Regions from separate parts of the Homo sapiens genome. Here region 1 is linked to region 2. The links are contacts of gene promoters, found by promoter capture Hi-C in blood cells and fetal thymus (Javierre and others, 2016). All regions are on one chromosome and are shown on one strand. The core of a region is centred on a gene start or on the middle of the fragment in contact, and the rest is flanking DNA. Distances in the headings are between cores, read along the strand shown.

What was found. Contacts are between HindIII fragments. The CHiCAGO score rates a contact against its expected background, and 5 or more counts as called.
Region 1: a fragment that was not itself captured here is called in contact with the fragment with the promoter of LRRC53 in region 2 in 1 of 17 cell types (endothelial precursors); the score reaches 5.2 in endothelial precursors.

What each region holds. Positions count from the first base shown.
Region 1 is chr1:71,104,456-71,111,713 of GRCh38, forward strand. The region is part of intron 2 of ZRANB2-DT (ZRANB2 divergent transcript); the gene reads left to right. Among named protein-coding and RNA genes, the nearest start is that of ZRANB2-DT, 27 kb to the left of the region's middle. The HindIII fragment of the contact is 511 bases long and covers 3,727-4,237 here.
Region 2 is chr1:74,509,955-74,516,836 of GRCh38, forward strand. LRRC53 (leucine rich repeat containing 53) reads right to left here and starts at 2,657. Exons shown (of 5, transcript NM_001382280.1): 1 at 2,572-2,657. The region is part of intron 25 of FPGT-TNNI3K (FPGT-TNNI3K readthrough); the gene reads left to right. The region is part of intron 23 of TNNI3K (TNNI3 interacting kinase); the gene reads left to right. The HindIII fragment of the contact is 6,650 bases long and covers 1-4,161 here.

The sequences.
Region 1 (7,258 bases), core at 2,732-5,231, 3.4 Mb before region 2:
GAGATAGTATCTTATATTTCTAGACCACTTTAGAATTTACAAAGCATTTCTACATCTATTATTTCCCATTACTGTCTCCACCACCCTGTAAAAGAGGTGTTTTTGCTTTCATTTTAAAGATCAAGAAATGTGGGCTCAAAGACATATGTAGTATCACAGTCACTGGTTTGTGTAAGATCAAATCTGATCTTCTAATCCTAGGTTCAGCGCTATTAGCTAGTGCCTCCATCCTGCTTATCTGTATCTGGTGTAGATTTTCCTGTTATCCCTTTGGTATCTGGTGTAGAATTTCCTGTTATCCCTCAAATGTTAATTAGGAGCTATATTCTTGCCACGTAAGAATTATATGTCTATCGAGTTCATATACCTTAGCATTAGACAACAACTGAAATTCTCAAAATTATCAGGTTAATGTATCACCTAGAACTAGTCAATTTTCTGGAATTAATTTTATGTCATAAGGCTTACTTTTTATCTTTTCATGTGCTTTAATAATACTTGAACCAATATTACCTCCTATGTGAACAGAGTTCAGGTGAATAGCCAGTGAGCTTCTATTACAGATCTATTTTAGAATTGACTTCTTTGTGGCACCAATAAAATCTTCAACTACAGCATGATTATGTTGTCAAAAAGTTGATTTTCATCATAGTCTGAATATTGATTCATTGAATATGTAACTTTTTTCTTGAGAGAAATAAAATTATTTCCCTGGATACGTTACATAGATCATCAGTATGTATGAAGTTTTGAAGAGGTTGGTCATTGGTAAATATACTAAAGAAAATAATCCGAAACAAACCATACAGATAAAAGACAATTCTTACATTAGTTTAACATTAAATGTCCCTTAGTACATAGATGAAAGACTAAAATGCAGGACAATATAAGCATAATATGTGTTGATTTATGAGCAGCATGCAGCTCAATAATCCATTGGTGTCTACTGACTAAGATCAGTGTAAGGGCAAACACGGCTCTCTTTTGAGTGCTGTTCTAGGCTCTTCTGGTGAAAAGATATTTTTAGGCAACACTGTGCAATTCAGAGAACGTGAAAGGTAATGAGGTATTCCTCTCAGCGCAATGTACCATGTCCATTCTATCATTGAAAGAGTAATGACATGAATCAGAAAAGCCAAACACATATACATTTAAATCCCTGAAAAATGATGTGACTATGAAGTTACTGAATTACTTGGATGTTTTGTCAAAGTTTACTTCCTGGCTAAATAGTGGGCCTCTCCATATTCAACCATGTCACATACTTATTTAAATATGTCACATATTTAATTAAACTTTCTTGCTTAAATGGGAGTTGGAGAATGATCTGGCCAACATGAACCAAGTTGAGAAGGGGTTATTAATTAGGTTCCAGGATGGTGAAGAGTATGCAGTTCTTACCCAGGACCATGGGAATGCAGTGAGCCAAAGGGATTGGCAAATCTGTCAGAAGAAAGAAAGAAGAAATCTGTCAGAGGAAAGAAAGAACATTAGATTTTCTGGGCCAAAAATTAAGCCAAAAAACTTTTAGCAAAGAAATAAGATATGAAAAGAGCAAAAGCCTTTCGGGAGTGAATAGGTGGTTCTTTGACAATGTCCTAATTTGACAATGGTAGAGGATCAGATAACTGAGGTTTTTCTTTAGGGAACAGTGGGCATATGAGTGAAAGGAGTTGGTTGGCTAGAAGGGCCAAGAGCTGAGCAGATTACGATTCATTATTCTTTCCTACGATAAACATTACCTAGTATTCTATCATTAGACACAATTAAAATGTGTAAAAGCAAAAAAGTCACCATCATAATCAATTATTTAGTTTTTCTAAAGGATTTCAAACAATGTTTGATTGATTTTTAAATGCTGAATTGGATGATTTTGGGATTCAATTAGTAATACAGAGGAACAGACTCTCAATGGGAGACAAATTTCAAGGTTATCCAATGGCACTTGAGGCAGGAATTCTTTCTATATTGTTCAAGTTGAGCGAAAGTCTGGTATTAAGTTCTGTGTTGACAGTACACATGCTGCTTTATGAGGCACTCCATTTCATTGTGTATAGCCTTATGTCTGTAATTTTTATTTTTGGCTTCCTAGAAAACATTCCTAATTTCTACCAGCATTTTGGTTTATGTTTGTAGAAAAATGTCTTCTTAATCTGATACAGTCTAGTGAAACTATTAATGATGGCCCTTACCTCACCCTAAACAAAGGTACCAACCTGACCCCGGGTAGTCCTGTAGTCAGTCCTTTTCTCAAATTTGAATCTTGAACACGGTGAAACAAACGTTCAGCATTGTTTCATTTCCAGCAGTGGTTGGTGCCCTGACCAGACTATTTTCCCCCTGAGCCTCTGACCGTCTTTCCTGTTTTCTCATTCTCTGAATGAATCTGCCCTAGTTTTTGTTGTTTCCAAACTGATTCTCCAGCTTCCTGTCAATACTGTGCATGCCAGTCAACTGGGGAGACTGTTAGAAATGAAGATTCTTAGACCTCATGTTGCTTAAAGTATTTAGCAGTAGTAGTATGAGGTGGGGTACAGGAAGTTAAATTTACAACACACTCCGAGTAACACTGATGCAGTCAAAAATATGAGCTGACTTTTGGGAACACTGTACAATGTACATTTGTACTTTAATAGAACATTTCTGAAAGTGGAAAAGTCTTCCTGACTGACTCACTAACTGGATAAATTCCAGTTCTTTCATTCATTCAATAATTCAACAAACAGACATTGAGCATCTACCCTGTGACAGGCATCAACGATGAGCCTTGGAGTAAATAATATCATTAAGATTATTTGAGGCTGGGCGTACCAGCTTGCTTTTGGCGGGGCACTGAGTCATTCAAAAGAGCAAGGAATACATATCTAGATATCGATGTCTTATATTCAGTAAATATCACTAATAATCTTTAAAAGAAATGGACAAGCATTTATCTCTATATTTCCATATCCCTCATATTCCTCAAAAGTGTCATAATAAAGAGATTTCTAATTACACTCTAGGCATGTTCCTTTGTGTATGTAAAAATAGTTCTAGGCAATACCAGAAATCTCAGTTCTAATTAATTAGTCTTAGGCATGATAATAAAATTCAGCCATACCAATTTTCTGCCAGGTTTAATGAAACAAGGTTTTCTTCTTTCATTTTGCTACTCAATTGCCTCACAATTACATGTACAATGTACAATAAAAATAACTGTATAGGTGAACAGGATATGAAAATGTTCAGAAATTCTTCCTTTCAACTAACAAAAATAACTTTTTATTTTTTTTTTTGAGACGGGCTCTCGCTCTGTCGCCCAGGCTGGAGTGCAGTGGCGCGATCTCGGCTCACTGCAAGCTCCGCCTCCCAGGTTCACACCATTCTCCTGCCTCAGCCTCCCAAGTAGCTGGGGCTACAGGCGCCCGCCACCACACCTGGCTAATTTTTTGTATTTTTAGTTGAGATGAGGTTTCACCGTGTTAGCCAGGATGGTCTCGATCTCCTGACTTCGTGATCTGCCTGCCTTGGCCTGTAAATGCTGGGATTACAGGCGTGAGCCACTGCTCCTGGCCTCAACTAACAAAAATAACTCTGAAGTAAAATACTGTTAAATAAGGTTCAAATTTTATGTTGTTTCGTTGATTATTTTAAGATTATAAATCAGTGATCTTAAGTACATCTTAAAAACTTATATCCCTCTAAAATTGACTCTAAGTAAATTGACCTCTAAAATTTCTCAATTTAAGCTTAGATCATTGTAAAATATATAGTTTACTGTAAATTGTAAATATTGACATAAAAGTTGTATCTTCTTGAGATATAGCCATTTCGATTCTCATGAAAAATCGATATTAAAGTACTTAAACTAATTCATCTGTAACAGTCACAAGTTACCCTGAACTTCTATTTCTATACCACTTTTTCAATAGGATTTAGCCTAGTTTAATGCATTCTTTCTGCCTCAAAGTCTTTTAGTAATTACCCTTTTCCTACCACAACAATATGGATGTACATTGAAAAAGTAATTAAAAATTTGGTGATGTAGACTCCAGGTGTTAAGAATTCTTCTGAATTCAATTTTCATTATTCATATTAATATATAATTAACCTAAACATCATGAATAATTTTTAGATAATATACATAAAAACTAAAATATATTAGAATTATATTCATTATTCTCATGATTGAGCAATTTCTTGTTTAATAAATGTATGTATCTGTGGCTGAATATTACTTATTGCTAGAATGAGTCAAAGCTTAGCATCAATCTATTCTATTTGATTGAGTTTCTTAATCCTGAGTTCTAGTTTGATTGCACTGTGGTCTGAGAGACAGTTTGTTATAATTTCTGTTCTTTTACATTTGCTGAGGAGAGCTTTACTTCCAACTATGTGGTCAATTTTGGAATAGGTGTGGTGTGGTGCTGAAAAAAATGTATATTCTGTTGATTTGGGGTGGAGAGTTCTGTAGATGTCTATTAGGTCCACTTGGTGCAGAGGTGAGTTCAATTCCTGGGTATCCTTGTTAACTTTCTGTCTTGTTGATCTGTCTAATGTTGACAGTGGGGTGTTAAAGTCTCCCATTATTATTGTCTGGGAGTCTAAGAAACTCACTCAAAACCACTCAACTACATGGAAACTGAACAACCTGCTCCTGAATGACTACTGGGTACATAACGAAATGAAGGCAGAAATAAAGATGTTCTTTGAAACCAATGAGAACAAAGACACAACATACCAGAATCTCTGGGACACATTCAAAGCAGTGTGTAGAGGGAAATTTATAGCACTAAATGCCCACAGGAGAAAGCAGGAAAGATCCAAAATTGACACCCGAACATCACAATTAAAAGAACTAGAAAAGCAAGAGCAAACACATTCAAAAGCTAGCAGAAGGCAAGAAATAACTAAAATCAGAGCAGAACTGAAGGAAATAGAGACCAAAAAAACCCTTCAAAAAATTAATGAATCCAGGAGCTGGTTTTTTGAAAGGATCAACAAAATTGATAGACTGCTAGCAAGACTAATAAAGAAGAAAATGGAGAAGAATCAAATAGATGCAATAAAAAATGATAAAGGGGATATCACCACCGATCCCACACGAATACAAACTACCATCAGAGAATACTACAAACACCTCTATGCAAATAAACTAGAAAATCTAGAAGAAATGGATAAATTCCTCGACACATACACTCTCCCAAGACTAAACCAGGAAGAAGTTGAATCTCTGAATAGACCAATAACAGGATCTGAAATTGTGGCAATAATCAATAGCTTACCAACCAAAAAGAGCCCAGGACCAGATGGATTCACAGCCGAATTCTACCAGAGGTACAAGGAGGAACTGGTACCATTCCTTCTGAAACTATTCCAATCAATAGAAAAAGAGGGAATCATCCCTAACTCATTTTATGAGGCCAGCATCATCCTGATACCAAAGCCGGGCAGAGACACAACAAAAAAAGAGAATTTAGACCAATATCCTTGATGAACATTGATGCAAAAATCCTCAATAAAGTACTGGCAAACCGAATCCAGCAGCACATCAAAAAGCTTATCCACCATGATCAAGTGGGCTTCATCCCTGGGATGCAAGGCTGGTTCAATATACGCAAATCAATAAATGTAATCCAGCATATAAACAGAACCAAAGACAAAAACCACATGGTTATCTCAATAGATGTAGAAAAGGCCTTTGACAAAATTCAACAACCTTCATGCTAAAAACTCTCAATAAATTAGGTATTGATGGGACATATCTCAAAATAATAAGAGCTATCTATGACAAACCCACAACCAATATCATACTGAATGGGCAAAAACTGGAAGCATTCCCTTTGAAAATTGGCACAAGGCAGGGATGCCCTCTCTCACTACTCCTATTCAACATAGTGTTGGAAGTTCTGGCCAGGGCAATTAGGCAAGAGAAAGAAATAAAGGGTATTCAATTAGGAAAAGAGGAAGTCAAATTGTCCCTGTTTGCAGACGACATGATTGTATATCTAGAAAACCCCATTGTCTCAGCCCAAAATCTCCTTAAGCTGATAAGCAACTTCAGCAAAGTCTCAGGATACAAAATCAACATACAAAAATCACAAGCATTCTTACACACCAATAACAGACAGAGAGCCAAATCATGAGTGAACTCCCATTCACAATTGCTTCAAAGAGAATAAAATACCTAGGAATCCAGCTTACAAGGGACGTGAAGGACCTCTTCAAGGAGAACTACAAACCACTGCTGAAGGAAATAAAAGAGGATACAAACAAATGGAAGAACATTCCATGCTCATGGGTAGGAAGAATCAATATCGTGAAAGTGGCCATACTGCCCAAGGTAATTTATAGATTCAATGCCATCCCCATCAAGCTACCAATGACTTTGTTCACAGAATTGGAAAAAACTACTTTAAAGTTCATACGGAACCAAAAAAGAGCCTGCATCGCCAAGTCAATCCTAAGCCAAAAGAACAAAGCTGGAGGCATCACCCTACCTGTCTTCAAATTATACTACAAGGCTACAGTAACCAAAACAGCATGATACTGGTACCAAAACAGAGATATAGATCAATGGAACAGAACAGAGCCCTCAGAAATAATGCCGCATATCTACAACTATCTGATCTTTGGCAAACCTGACAAAAACAAGACATGGGGAAAGGATTCCCTATTTAATAAATGGTGCTGGGAAAACTGGCTAGCCATATGTAGAAAGCTGAAACTGGATCCCTTCCTTACACCTTATACAAAAATTAATTCAAGATGGATTAAAGACTTAAACGTTAGACCTAAAACCATAAAAACCCTAGAAGAAAACCTAAGCATTACCATTCAGGACATAGGCATGGGCAAGGACTTAATGTCTAAACCACCAAAAGCAATGGCAACAAAAGCCAAAATTGACAAATGAGATCTAATTAAACTAAAGAGCCTCTGCACAGCAAAAGAAACTACCATCAGAGTGAACAGGCAACCTACAAAATGGGAGAAAATTTTCGCAACCTACTCATCTGACAAAGGGCTAATATCCAGAATCTACAATGAACTCAAACAAATTTACAAGAAAAAAACAACCCCATCAAAAAGTGGGCAAAGGATATGAACAGACACTTCTCAAAAGAAGACATTTATGCAGCCAACAGACACATGAAAAAATGCTCATCATCACTGGCCATCAGAGAAATGCAAATCAAAACCACAATGACATACCATCTCACACCAGTTAGAATGGCAATCATTAAAAAGTCAGGAAACAACAGGTGCTGGAGAGGAT
Region 2 (6,882 bases), core at 1,407-3,906:
AGTCACCCAGGCTGGTCTTGAATTCCTGAATTCAAGCGATCTGCTTGCTTTCCAAGGTGTGAGCCTATGCGCCCAGCTTGAATTTCAATGTCACAGATTTTCTATTGCTTGTGTATTCTTTGGGTATTTTATTTCTTTTGTAAAAGGTAGACAGTTCTGAGTTTAAACATGACTTAGAGATGTTTAACTACATTTCTTACCCCCTGATTTTTACTTCCTGAGATCAGTAGTAGAGAGGGCAATCAGTTCTCACCTTTTAAAAAGATCTGAGGCCAGGTGCAGTGGCTCACGCCTGTAATCCCAGCACTTTCGGAGGCCGAGGCGGGCAGATCACGAGGTCAGGAGATCGAGACCATCCTGGCTAACATGGTGAAGCCCCGTCTCTACTAAAAATACAAAAAATATTAGCCGGGCATGGTGCCTGGCGCCTGTAGTCCCAGCTACTCAGGAGGCTGAGGCAGGAGAATGGCTTGAACCCGGGAGGTGGAGCTTGCAGAGAGCCGACATCGCGCCACTGCACTCTAGCCTGGGTGACAGAGTGAGACTCCGTCTCAAAAAAGAATAAAATGAGAAAAAAATTATTGAGAGATTGTCAAATCTCTTGAATTTTTAAAAAATTATTGCTCATTAAATTAAACAGCACCTTGTCTATAATTTGTTCAAAACTACCAACTACCAGATCTATGTGTTATACTTTGTTAAATAAACTTCCGTTTCTCTTTGGGAAAGACATATATAGGATCTTGAACAGTATATAAAGTTTAATTAAATATGGCTAGCATTGAAAAGTTCATGGAATTAATCAACTAGCTCACAAATGTGTGTTGATTTCCCTCTAGGTACACAGCACTGTGTCTGCCCCTACCCAGAGAGGCCCAGTATTTTGATAGCTAGTCTTGTATTCTTGTATAAAGAGTTTTAGCAAACTGAATATGCTTTTTTTCTTTTTTGAGACGAAGTCTCACTCTTGTCCCCCAGGCTGGAGTACAATGGTGCGATCTTGGCTCACTGCAACCTCTGCCTCCCAGGTTCAAGTGATTCTCCTGCCTCAGCCTCCCAAGTAGCTGGAATTACAGGCGTCTGCCACCATGCCCAGCTAATGTTTGTATCTTTAGTAGAAACAGAGTTTCACCATGTTGGCCAGGCTGGTCTGGAACTCCTGGTGATCACCTCAGGTGATCCATCCGCCTTGGCCTCCCAAAGTGCTGGGATTACAGGCGTGAGCTACCGTGCCCGGCCTATTTTTTTTTTTTCCGAGATGGAATTTCGCTCTTATTGCCCAGGCTGGAGTGCAATGGTGCGATCTCGGCTCACCACAACCTCTGCCTCCCGGGTTCAAGCAATTCTCGTGCCTCAGGCTCCCGAGTAGCTGGGACTACAGGCACACGTCACTACACCCTGCTAATTTTTGTATTTTTAGTAGAGATAGGGTTTTGCCATGTTGGCCTCGAACTCCTGGTCTCGAACTCCTGACCTCAAGTAATTCACTCTTATTTTCTTTATTTAAAGAATTAACAATATATTACTTACAGGTGGAAAACACAAATGTATGTGTCATTTTCCCTATTACGCTAGCCTCTTCACTGATCTAATTCCATTGGATATGCATTTATCTATCATTTATTAAGCAGCTCTTATATATTGAATCATGTAGTAAATATTGGACACCCAATGATGGATTAGAGATCTCTTCAGTCCTGGGGGAATTCACAGTTTAAGGGAGGAGGTCAGAGAAACACACAGGAAGATAAGTACTGAGCCATGTGTAGGAAGCCCTGTGAGCCTGAGAAGAGTCAAGGTAGGCTTCCCAAAAGCCATCCCGTTTCACTTGAGTTTGGCAGAGTTAACCAAGCAGAGAAAGGAAGAAAGAGTGTACTAGGAAAGGGAAGCAACAGGGACAAAGGCAGGAAAGTGGGAACCTGCACAGTACATTTGGGAACAGCAAAGGGTTGAGTGTGGGTAGAGCAGAAGCTATAGATGAGGATCTAAAGTCAATAGAAGTAGAAATAAAAGAACATGGAGTCAAGTAAGTTCAGTACCCAAGGAAAATCGGAAGGAAGAGGGCAGCTTTCCTTCATGCAGCTTCCCTTCCAGTCACTGAGACCTCAGACTCTTCTCTTCATTCAGGCAGTGAGCATGAAAAGATCTGGATGGGACTGGATATAGCAGCCACCAGTCTTTATTGAAATAGCCCTGGGGCATGACTCGAACCTGTGAGGGACCATAAAGGGGCATGATTTCTGCAGCTGTGTTTACTGTCAGTGATTGTACAGACTCAAACATGGAGCTAGGGATAATATGGTAATCTAGATGAGACATGAGTGACATAGACACAGTAGAGCTCCACCTTGAACCCAAGATTGGCCCCTAGAACTGTGCAAAACAGGCAACACTGCAGGGTGGCTCATGGCACTCAACTATTCCTGCACTGATGACATTCCTGTACTGATGACATCACCCACATGATCATCTGTTTATAAGTCTGTCTCTTTAAATGGTGAGGAAAGAGAAATAAAGGTGTAAAAATCCAGCCATCATAACAAAAACACCAAAAGAAAGAAATTAACTTACCCAAAGGTCTCACAGCTTGTAGTTTGTGAATCTCTACATTAAAAGGTGGATGATGAATCTGAGACCTACTGAGTTAACTGTCCAGCATCTCAGCCATATGCCTTATTCCTCTTTATATGCATCTCCACTCCCACACCACCCCCTCCTGGCTTCATCCTTTAGTGCCTGGAATAACGCCTGGCACATGGTAGTTACTCATCAGAAGTCCACTGAGTGAAAGAACAAACACCTACCACTGACGGGTTGCTATTTATACCATTCTGTCTTCACTGTTGGGAGCTTCATACTGTATTCTTCAAAATGGGCACCCCCTGCAGCATGCCTCACTCTACAAGGAAAACTTCTCTGTTAACAAGCCTTATGATGGGGTCACTATGTGATCACCTAAAGCTGGCCTTTTCTGTCCCTCATCCGGGTAAATGGCTCACCGTGGAAAACTATAGACGACTTTTGCCCTTTCACTAACATTCCTCTTGATAAGACACTTAAAGAGGAAAATAGTCTTGACTCTTTAAAGTTGATGCCAGTTTGGGGCTGTTAACAAAGTCAAGGGATTCTGTTGTTAGAATCAACCTAGCACACAGCTTGCTCAGTCGATACTGTTTCACTGGCCTGAGATTACAGCAGAGGTAGGTGCCTAAGATGAGGAAATGGTTGTGGAGAAAGAGTCCGAATGACCCAGAGGTCCACGTGTGCTTTCCTAGTTCGTTTATTCAGCTGATATTTATTGAGAAATTATACCGGGATGTGGAAATTTACTGAGTCCCTGTCCTTTCATTATTTTAATCCAGTGCACTAGGTGTTCTTATCAGAGTGAGTCCATGAAATGTTGGGGATGCAGGGGCACTGGTAGTAGGAGTTGAGAACCTGATGATGACTGTCTTTGCAATGTTCCCTCAGAAGAAAAGGTTTGTGCAGAAGGCACATCCCACTTCAGACTCCTGCACATCTGCAGAGAACTTTGCATTCTCACTGCAAGAGGAGTTCCTCTTCCTTTCATTTTTCTTCTCTTTGTCTTCCTTTTTTTCTCTATGCCAAACCTAAGCAAATCTGCTTCATCCAGAGGCAGCTGGCGCTACTATGTGGGAGTGTTAAATGTTTAACATCTTGTCACTTGCGTAACTGATGGAGTCATCCTTTTTGTTTCAGAGTTTCATGTTTAGGGGTTGAAAAGCTAGATTGATGAGCATTACCAGAGAGAAATATTTTTTGGAAAGTAAGTGAAGCTGATGACACATTACTTTACAGTTTAGTGAATTTCAGCAAATCTAATTCTATTATCCTGTCAAAGTTTCACAAAAAGGAGACCTGAAAGCATATTTTAGATGAATCTTTAAAGATTTCAAGAAGCCACAACCGCATCTGCAAAGCTCAGATGCATCTGGTGCTGACAGACCTTTGTTTTTCTATAGACTAAGGGGAGTAAATAATCTTCCAAAAACTAATTAAGTAAAGTTATCTTTGGTTGTACAGTGCCTGCCTCTCTCTCCCTTGAAAAGGTTGTCAGCCAGTAAACGATAACTGCGTTTTTCAATTCAAAGGCTATTCGAAGTTTGCATAGCCAAATTTACCCAGGCACACCAAAATAGAAGCTTCCTTTATGAATCATAGAGTCTTGTAATGCAGATTTTATAGAGCATTTAAAGCCAGATCATTTATGTCCTTGTTTATTTTCACAATCAAGTATAAGATACGGTCTAATAAATACATTCTGACCAAAATGCTAGGAGCAATTGTTTTAAAGCGTTTTCACACAATTCTATGTATTTGTCAGAGGCTTACAAGCTGACAAGCTGAAAGCGCTTTGTGATGCTTTTGGCAATTTGTGTGATTGTGTATACACTTGCACAGAAGTTCCTTATCGAGAGGAAGCATTTAAGTAAAAAGGGGAGCATTAATGAAAAGGTCCATTTTAATAGAAATTGCTGTTGTTCTCTACTATCTAACAATTATTCACTTAAGAAGAAAAGTCTTGATAGAATTTATTGAGAACCTACTATGTACTAGTACACATATTATTAATATAATATCCCCAATTATTTGCTAGGTAGATATTATCTCCATTTTGAAGATGGGAAAACTGGTCAAAACAGGAAACATCTTCTGAGATAGTAAGGGGGGAAGCTGGGATTGACTCCAGTCTATCTAATCCCAAAGCCATGTGTGCTCTTTTTAGGACACCATAAGAAATTCTGTTTGGAACTCATGATAAAAAACAAGATCAAGACTGTGGTAAAAATGTGAAGGGGTATTGTGGGTTGAATTGTATCCCCCAAAAAGATATGTTGAAGTCTCAGACCCTGGTACCTCAAAATGTGACCCTATTTGGAAACAGGGTTGTTGCAGATGTGAGAAGTTCATAGGAGTTTATACTGGAGTAGGGTGGGCCCTTAATTCAAGATGACTTGTGTCTTTATAAGAAGAGCACAAAGACACGCAGAAGAATGGCATGTGAAGATGATGGAGGCAGGGACTGAAGTGCTCTACCTAGAAGCCAAGGAATATAAGGATCGTAGCCCTCACCAGAAACTAGGACATGGGCACAGAATTTTCCTCAGAATATTCCTTCAGAAAGAACCAACCTTGCCAACACCTTGACTCTGGACTTTTAACCTGCATAACAGTGAAAGAATACATTTCTGTTGTTTGAAGCCTTCAGGTGTTTGGAACTTTCTTATGGCAGCCCTAGGAAATGAATACAGAGGATGACATAACTTCATAGAGCTTAGGAAGAAAACAAACTCCAGACTGAATGTTAGGTCAGTGCCCTTCCTGAGGGTCATAGTCATGTTATTTTTCCTTCATCATTTGGGACTATGCGGAAAACCCACACCTAACCCAGTATGAGACTTGAAAGACATTTTTTGGTGCTTTGTCAGAAAATAAATATATGGTTAACCAAAGTTAAGGTGAAATTCTAACGTTTTATCATGCCAATACATATAGAAATGATACTAGGAAAGGGTGTGCTATTTGACTGAAGTTTCTCTGATGGTTGCTGTTGGCAACCAGTTTTACAAGAGGCACAAGTCTAATTAGGGCAGAAGTCAGGAAGAGATTGCAAGTAATTGAGGTCAGACATAACTCAGGGTGGGCAGGTGGCTGACATCCGATGTAGTCAAACTAAGGGGATCATGGTTTGAGGTGGGCAGACACAACAGGTGAGGGATGGAGACTGAACACTGATGGAAATAACTAAAAGCTGAATCTGGCAATGACATTCAAGTAGGTCAAAAAATAAGTATGATAAAAGCTAAGGGAAATCTGAGGTTTTTCTCTTCAGAAGCCTAGTCTTCCTAAATTGGCTATTTCTTTAGACTGGAGATCATTAGTTATTAAAAGGACTATACTTACACCTGCCAACCTAATGCCCCATAGTGCCAGTTTACCTCCTGGCTGCCTTCAAGGTTCTGATGTCTGACTCAGTTGAGAAGAAGGGACTTGCCTTTGCAGAAAATGTAAATGGAGAGAGTAGTACTGATGTCTTTAGGAGCCTCACTAGAGGGGAAGGAAAGGACAATCAACTTACTGGTGAAGCCATCTTCTGTGGATCTTTGAGTTGGAACTAGGCTGAGAATGTAGGTCTGAAGTGCAAATCATCCCTGTTCTTATTGATAATAACTCTGGTATTTCAAAATTTTTAAAAATATGGTCATTTATTTCTGTTCTGAAATTTCCCATTAGCCAGGAAAAAAAATTTTGACTAATGTTGAAGACTACTCAATGAATGTTGCTATCCATTTGTTTGTTCACTCATCTGCTCAATCACTATTTACTTGGATGGGGAAGGGATTCATAATTTCTAGATATGTTGCTAAATGATGAAAATAAAGGAAAAATAAGACATGGTTTCTGACTTAAGATGAGAATAGTTGAGTCAGGAAGGCAATATCAAATCCGTACAATACAAGGCATGAGGTGTCACAGTAAAGAGATGAAGTCCTTTTACTGTGGGGCTTAGTATGTGAGAAAAACTGTGAGAAAGAAGTTCATTGTGTGTAGAGCCTGCCTATATGAGGCAGGGAGCAATAGAGGATGAGGCTGGAGAAATAGACCCAGGCCTGCTGCTTGAGACCTGGACCGTGGGACCTTGCTACTATGGGCCATGGGACCTCAACAGTAAGTGGCATGGTCAGCCACGTTTAAAAAGAAGGACATTTCCACAGCTTGGTTGAGGATGGCTTGTATATTCCCCATCACTAATTCCAGCATTATTTCTCCAGTAGTAATAATGAATGTGCCCTCATATAGCCACATTTCCCCAACCCTTATTATAACAAGTTAAGGCAGCTTACTTCTGGGATTTTTCAG